2 separate regions of the Homo sapiens genome follow, and region 2 is linked to region 1. The links are contacts of gene promoters, found by promoter capture Hi-C in human tissues and cell types (Jung and others, 2019). All regions are on one chromosome and are shown on one strand. Each heading gives the region's core, a stretch centred on a gene start or on the middle of the fragment in contact. The rest is flanking DNA. Distances are from core to core; before and after follow the strand shown. Region 1 holds the start of GGT6 (gamma-glutamyltransferase 6). Region 2 overlaps ANKFY1 (ankyrin repeat and FYVE domain containing 1).

Region 1 (2,619 bases), core at 48-2,547:
GTCACCAACACTCAGATTAAGAAACAACATCTCGGCCGGGCGCGGTGGCTCACACCCGTAATCCTAGTACTTTTGGGAGGCTGAGGCGGGCGGATCACCTGAGGTCAAGAGTTCAAGACCAGGCTGGCCAACATGGTGAAACCCTGTCTCTACTAAAAATACAAAAAATTAGCCAGGCGTGGTGGCATGTGCCTGTAATCCCAGCTACTCGGGAGGCTGAGGCAGAAGAATTGCTTGAACCCAGGAGGTGGAAGTTGCAGTGAGCTGAGATTGCACCATTGCACTCCAGCCTGGGCAACAAGAATGAAAACTCTGTCAAGAAAGAAAGAAGAGAAAGAAAAGAAAGGTAAAGGAAAAAGGAAAGGAAAGAAAGGAAGGAAAGAAAGGACATCTCCAGCATTCCAGAAACCCCCTGGTACCTCCTCCAGTCACTATCTGACTTCTAAGGGCAGACTGTTGTTGCTCTTTTGTTGTTGCCTGTTTGTGTACTTTGTGTAAATGAAAGCATATAGCGTGCGCTGTCTCCTGCCTGGCTGCTTTCCCTCGTCCTTATGCTTGTCAGACCTGTGTATATTATTGCATATAATTGTAGATCACTCACTCTCTTTGCTGCAGAGTGGTCCATTGTGACTTACATCATTCATTCTAACGATAATGGATGTTTGGGCACTTTCCAATTTGGGACTGTTACAAACAGCACTGTTTTGCAACAAGTCCTTGATGGGAATCCCAGAATGAATTTAGAAATGTTGGTTTCCAGGCTGTGGCGCTACCTTCTGGACAAGAGTCGCAAAACACGCACAGGGAGTTACGAACCAAGTTGCTCCTCAAAGAAACCCAGACCCAGAGTAGCCACAGGCTGAGCCTTGACCCCGGCCAGAGACCAGACACCCCTACGCCAGAACCTAGTCACGTGCAGACTCAAGCACGTGGGAGCTCTGACCCAAGCCACCGTGAAACCGTAGCTCTAATTCAAGTCCACAGTCCCTAGAGTCCCAGGTGGGTGGGATCCATGGGCTACATCCCCCAAGGGGAGGAGCCCAGCAGGTGCCCTGAGTATCAAGGTTGTGGCATTAAGGCTGAACTCCTTCTCGACCTCACTGAGCTGTGGCCCCTTACAGGCAGTCACCCCGGGAACCCTGTCGCGAGAGCTCCTCGGGCCTTGTGTCCTAATGGGGCAGGCTCACATGCAGCCTCCTTGGCCCCGTGCCCTGCCCAGACCTGTTCTGGATTCCACCCCCACCCTTCCCCAAGGTCGCTGCCACCTCCCACCTGCCAGGCTTGGGCAGGGCCTCTGAGACACAGCCGGAAAGGCTGGCAGGCAGGAGGGCTGGGGCGAGCACTGGGGGGCCATGGAGCGGGCAGAAGAGCCCGTGGTCTATCAGAAGCTGCTGCCCTGGGAGCCAAGCTTGGAGTCGGAGGAGGAAGTGGAGGAGGAGGAGACATCAGAGGCGCTGGTTCTAAACCCCCGGAGGCACCAGGACTCTTCCAGGTAAGTAAGGGAGGGGTCTGGGCACCAGGCTCCCCAGGCTTGAGGTTGGCAAGTCCCTCTCTCTGGAGCCCCTCAGGGGGACCAGGCGACTCCCCGCTGGGTTTAGCTCCAGGCACTGTACGGTCAATTTGGGGGAAAACCCAGGCTGTAGCCCGAGACTTGGCCTGACCCAATCAAAAGTCTGTGCATCTGGAGGGACATTTGTACCAAGCCAGCCTCTGTCCCATCTGCTGCTTTGTCAAAGGTCCCCAGCCCCCAAGTCCTGGTGCAGGAGGCACCTGCTGGGCAGGTTGGGGCCTGACTACGCCTGGCTGGGCCTGCTCCCCAGCCCCTTCTCTCCTGCCTGCCACACCCCACTGGGCCTCCCTCCCACCTGAGTGGACTCTGCCCCACCAATCTCCCCTCCAGAGGCTCCCTCCCTAGCTAGGCTCAGTTTCCCCAGATGCTTTCCCATCCCCATGTCTGCCCAAGATGCACCCGCTGCCAAGAAGCCCTTTCTCCTTGGCTGACTTGTGCTCCTCTTGCTAAATCAAACCTTTTGGGAAATATTCCCTGGGGTCTCTTGGGGTCCTTGGGCATCCCTCTGTCCCAGCCGTGGCTCAGGACACCCCCCCTCTGCAGGAACAAGGCTGGCGGGCTGCCCGGAACCTGGGCCCGTGTAGTGGCAGCCCTGCTGCTGCTGGCTGTTGGCTGCTCCCTGGCTGTGAGGCAGCTCCAGAATCAGGGCAGGTCGACAGGAAGCTTGGGCTCTGTGGCCCCTCCACCCGGCGGACACTCCCACGGCCCTGGCGTATACCACCACGGTGCCATCATCAGCCCTGCAGGTCAGTCAGTGCTGGGGGCGGCTTGGGGAGGGGAGGGTCAGGGGTCACCAGCCCAGCCTAGCCCCCCTCCTTGCTGCATGACAGTGCCTTCCTTGCTGCAGCCACATGCTCCCACCTAGGCCGAGAGCTGCTTGTTGCCGGGGGCAACGTCGTGGATGCTGGAGTTGGAGCTGCATTGTGCCTGGCAGTGGTGCATCCTCATGCCACGGGGCTAGGTCAGTGACCCCTGACCCCAGACTGCAACCCCAACCCACAGCCTGATCAGTGACCTGGAACTTAGGGAGTCAGTAGCACTGACCTCAA
Region 2 (2,619 bases), core at 32-2,531, 330 kb after region 1:
GTTTAATAGAGATGGGCTCTTGCTGTGTTGCCAAGGCTGGTCTCAAACTCCTGGGCTCAGATGATCCTCCTGCCTTGGCTACCCAAAGTGTTGGAATTTCAGGCATGAGCCACTCTGCCTGGCTCTTGTATAGGATTTTTGCCATTAATGCATAACCTCAATCTACTCATGAGAAAACATCAGACCCAAATTGAGGGACATTTCTCAAAATAATCAGCCAGAGTGTTTCTCAAACATGTCAAGGTTATGAAAAACAAGAATGGTTTAGGAAGTATTACAGATTGGGTGAGACTAACACTGAATGCAGTGTAGAATCCTCAGTTGGATTCTGGCCATAAAAAGGGTATTACTGGTAAAATTGGCAAAATAGGGCCTATAATTAGTTAATGGTATTGGTATTGTATGTATTACGTAGTTACCTAATTTTGATCATTGTACTATGGTTATATAAGCTGTATTAATAATAGGGGAAGATGAGTAAAGGGCATATGGGGATGCTCTGCAGCTTTTCTCAAAGTATGAAAGTATCTGAAAATGTAAACAAAGTAGAAATTTGCTTTTTTATTTCTTACTAAGGTATCTTTAAATATATGAAGTGATATGTTAATTAGCTTATAACCATTTCATAGTGCATACATATATCAAAACATGTCATACATTAACTCTATATAATTTTTGTCTGTTAAACCCTAATAAAAAAGAATAAAAGATAAAAGTTTATAAAGATACTGATTGACCAAGTGGGAAGAGAAAGAATATGACTGTTAGCTCAGCAAAGCATAACAAATCTGAGTCCACAAGGAAAGTATTATATTTACTTCTTGGTGAAGTAAAGCAATTTGCTTCTAGCAAAATGATCTGTTTATGGCCTCTCTGTAGCACTTTACCAGTAGCAGCTGACACGATGAGAGGTTCCAATGGATTAGAATGGCTGTTTTGAAGCTAGAGTTTGTTGCATACTTTCTCAAGCAAAGATCTTACAGTTCCTTGGCATAAGGGCTCAGGGTATGAGTCATTCAGCTCTCCTGGAATGTGTCCTGGATAGTGTCAAGCCATTCCAAACAGCAGAAAACATCCTCCTTTATTCCTTTTCACTCTGGTTGGGAAAGCTATCCCCTGAAGCACCATCTGGAAAGCTTGCACTCTGCAGTGGAAAGGGCATAGTTTCCCAAACTGTGTACTCGGGGAGCTGTGTGCTATTTAAATTTTTAAGAGAAGCACAGCAATATTCAACATCTGTTGGCTACTGTGTGAACTACTAGGTTAAGGCTGTTCAGTTTCAGTATTAAATCATACTGTGTTCCTTCGATGACATCCACGGGAAGTTTAGAATATGCTCACAAAAAGGAGTAAAAAAGAATATGCTCACAAATTCTTTGCTATTTCTCCCTGCAAAGGTGGATTCAAATTCTCCTCTTCAGTATAGGCTGATTCACCTCTAATGAATGGAGTGTGGTAGAAGTGGCAGCATGTGACTTGAGAGATGGCTTCATCGAAGGCACTGTGGCTTCTTCCTAGCTCTCTCTTTTGGATTGCTCATTTTGGGGGAACGTTAGCGGCCATGTCATGAGGACACTCAAACAGCCTTGTGGCCTCCTGCCAGCAGCTGAGTCCCATGCCCAAAGATTCTCTCAGAGCTCAAAATAATCTATTTTATCTGCGGTTATATTCTTTACTTAATCCTCATACTGCTTTTGGGTTTTTCTCACCAATCTTTGGTTATGTTAAGTTTGTGTTTGTGTTGGCTTATTGCAGATTTGGTTTAGGTTCATTGTTCTTTTAATTTTTATTTATATTTAGCCAATTCAATAATTTCTTTTTATCTGTATTAAATCTTTCTTTGAAATTCCTTTGAATTATTTTTTCTTTTTGAGTTGAATTACTATCTTTTATCTCATTTTCTTTTTTTTTTTTGAGACAGAGCCTCACTCTGTCACCCAGGCTGGAGTGCAGTGGTGTGATCTCAGCTCACTGCAACCTCCACCTCCTGGGCTCAAGTGATTCTCCTGCTTCAGCCTCCTGAGTAGCTGGGATTACAGGTGCCCGCCACCACGCCTGGCTAATTTTTGTATTTTTAGTAGAGATGGGGTTTTGCCACGTTGGCCATGCCGGTCTTGAACTCCTGACCTCAGGTGATCCACCCACTGCGGCCCCCCAAAGTGCTGGGATCACAGGTGTGAGCCACCATGCCTGGCCTCATTTTCTAATAAGGTTAAGACTATGACTTTTTTTTATAGTATGAATCTGACTACATTGCAAATATTTTGGTAGGTACTGTTTTCATTGTGATCAATTTCTAAATAGTCTATTGTAATAATAGCAAGTTTTTACATAGCAGTTACTATGTGGTGGTGGTGTTTTGAGTGCTTTATTATGTATTAACTCCACACAGTTAGCAAGGATTGGAGCCGGGATTTGAACCCTAGGTAGTTTGGCTGCAGAATTCGTGCCATTAACCACAGTGCCGTGCTGCCTGTCAGTTTGGTTTCTTTTTCCTCCAAATTGAGGTGTAATGGAAGTACAGTAAACTGCCCACATTAAAAGTGTGCAATTGGATAAGTTTTGACATACGAATACACCTGTGAAGCCACTGCCACAATCAACATAAACATTTCTATC

The links. Contacts are between HindIII fragments. The study calls those that stand out against the background at their distance.
Region 2: a contact is called between a fragment that was not itself captured here and the fragment with the promoter of GGT6 in region 1, in 1 of the 25 tissues and cell types used here (dorsolateral prefrontal cortex).

The regions. Positions count from the first base shown.
Region 1 is chr17:4,559,255-4,561,873 of GRCh38, reverse strand. It overlaps GGT6 (gamma-glutamyltransferase 6), which reads left to right and starts at 1,297. Exons shown (of 4, transcript NM_001288702.2): 1 at 1,297-1,492; 2 at 2,114-2,316; 3 at 2,418-2,531. The coding sequence starts at 1,353. The HindIII fragment of the contact is 6,687 bases long and covers 1-1,821 here.
Region 2 is chr17:4,228,719-4,231,337 of GRCh38, reverse strand. The region is part of intron 3 of ANKFY1 (ankyrin repeat and FYVE domain containing 1); the gene reads left to right. Among named protein-coding and RNA genes, the nearest start is that of ANKFY1, 34 kb to the left of the region's middle. The HindIII fragment of the contact is 6,569 bases long and covers 1-2,619 here.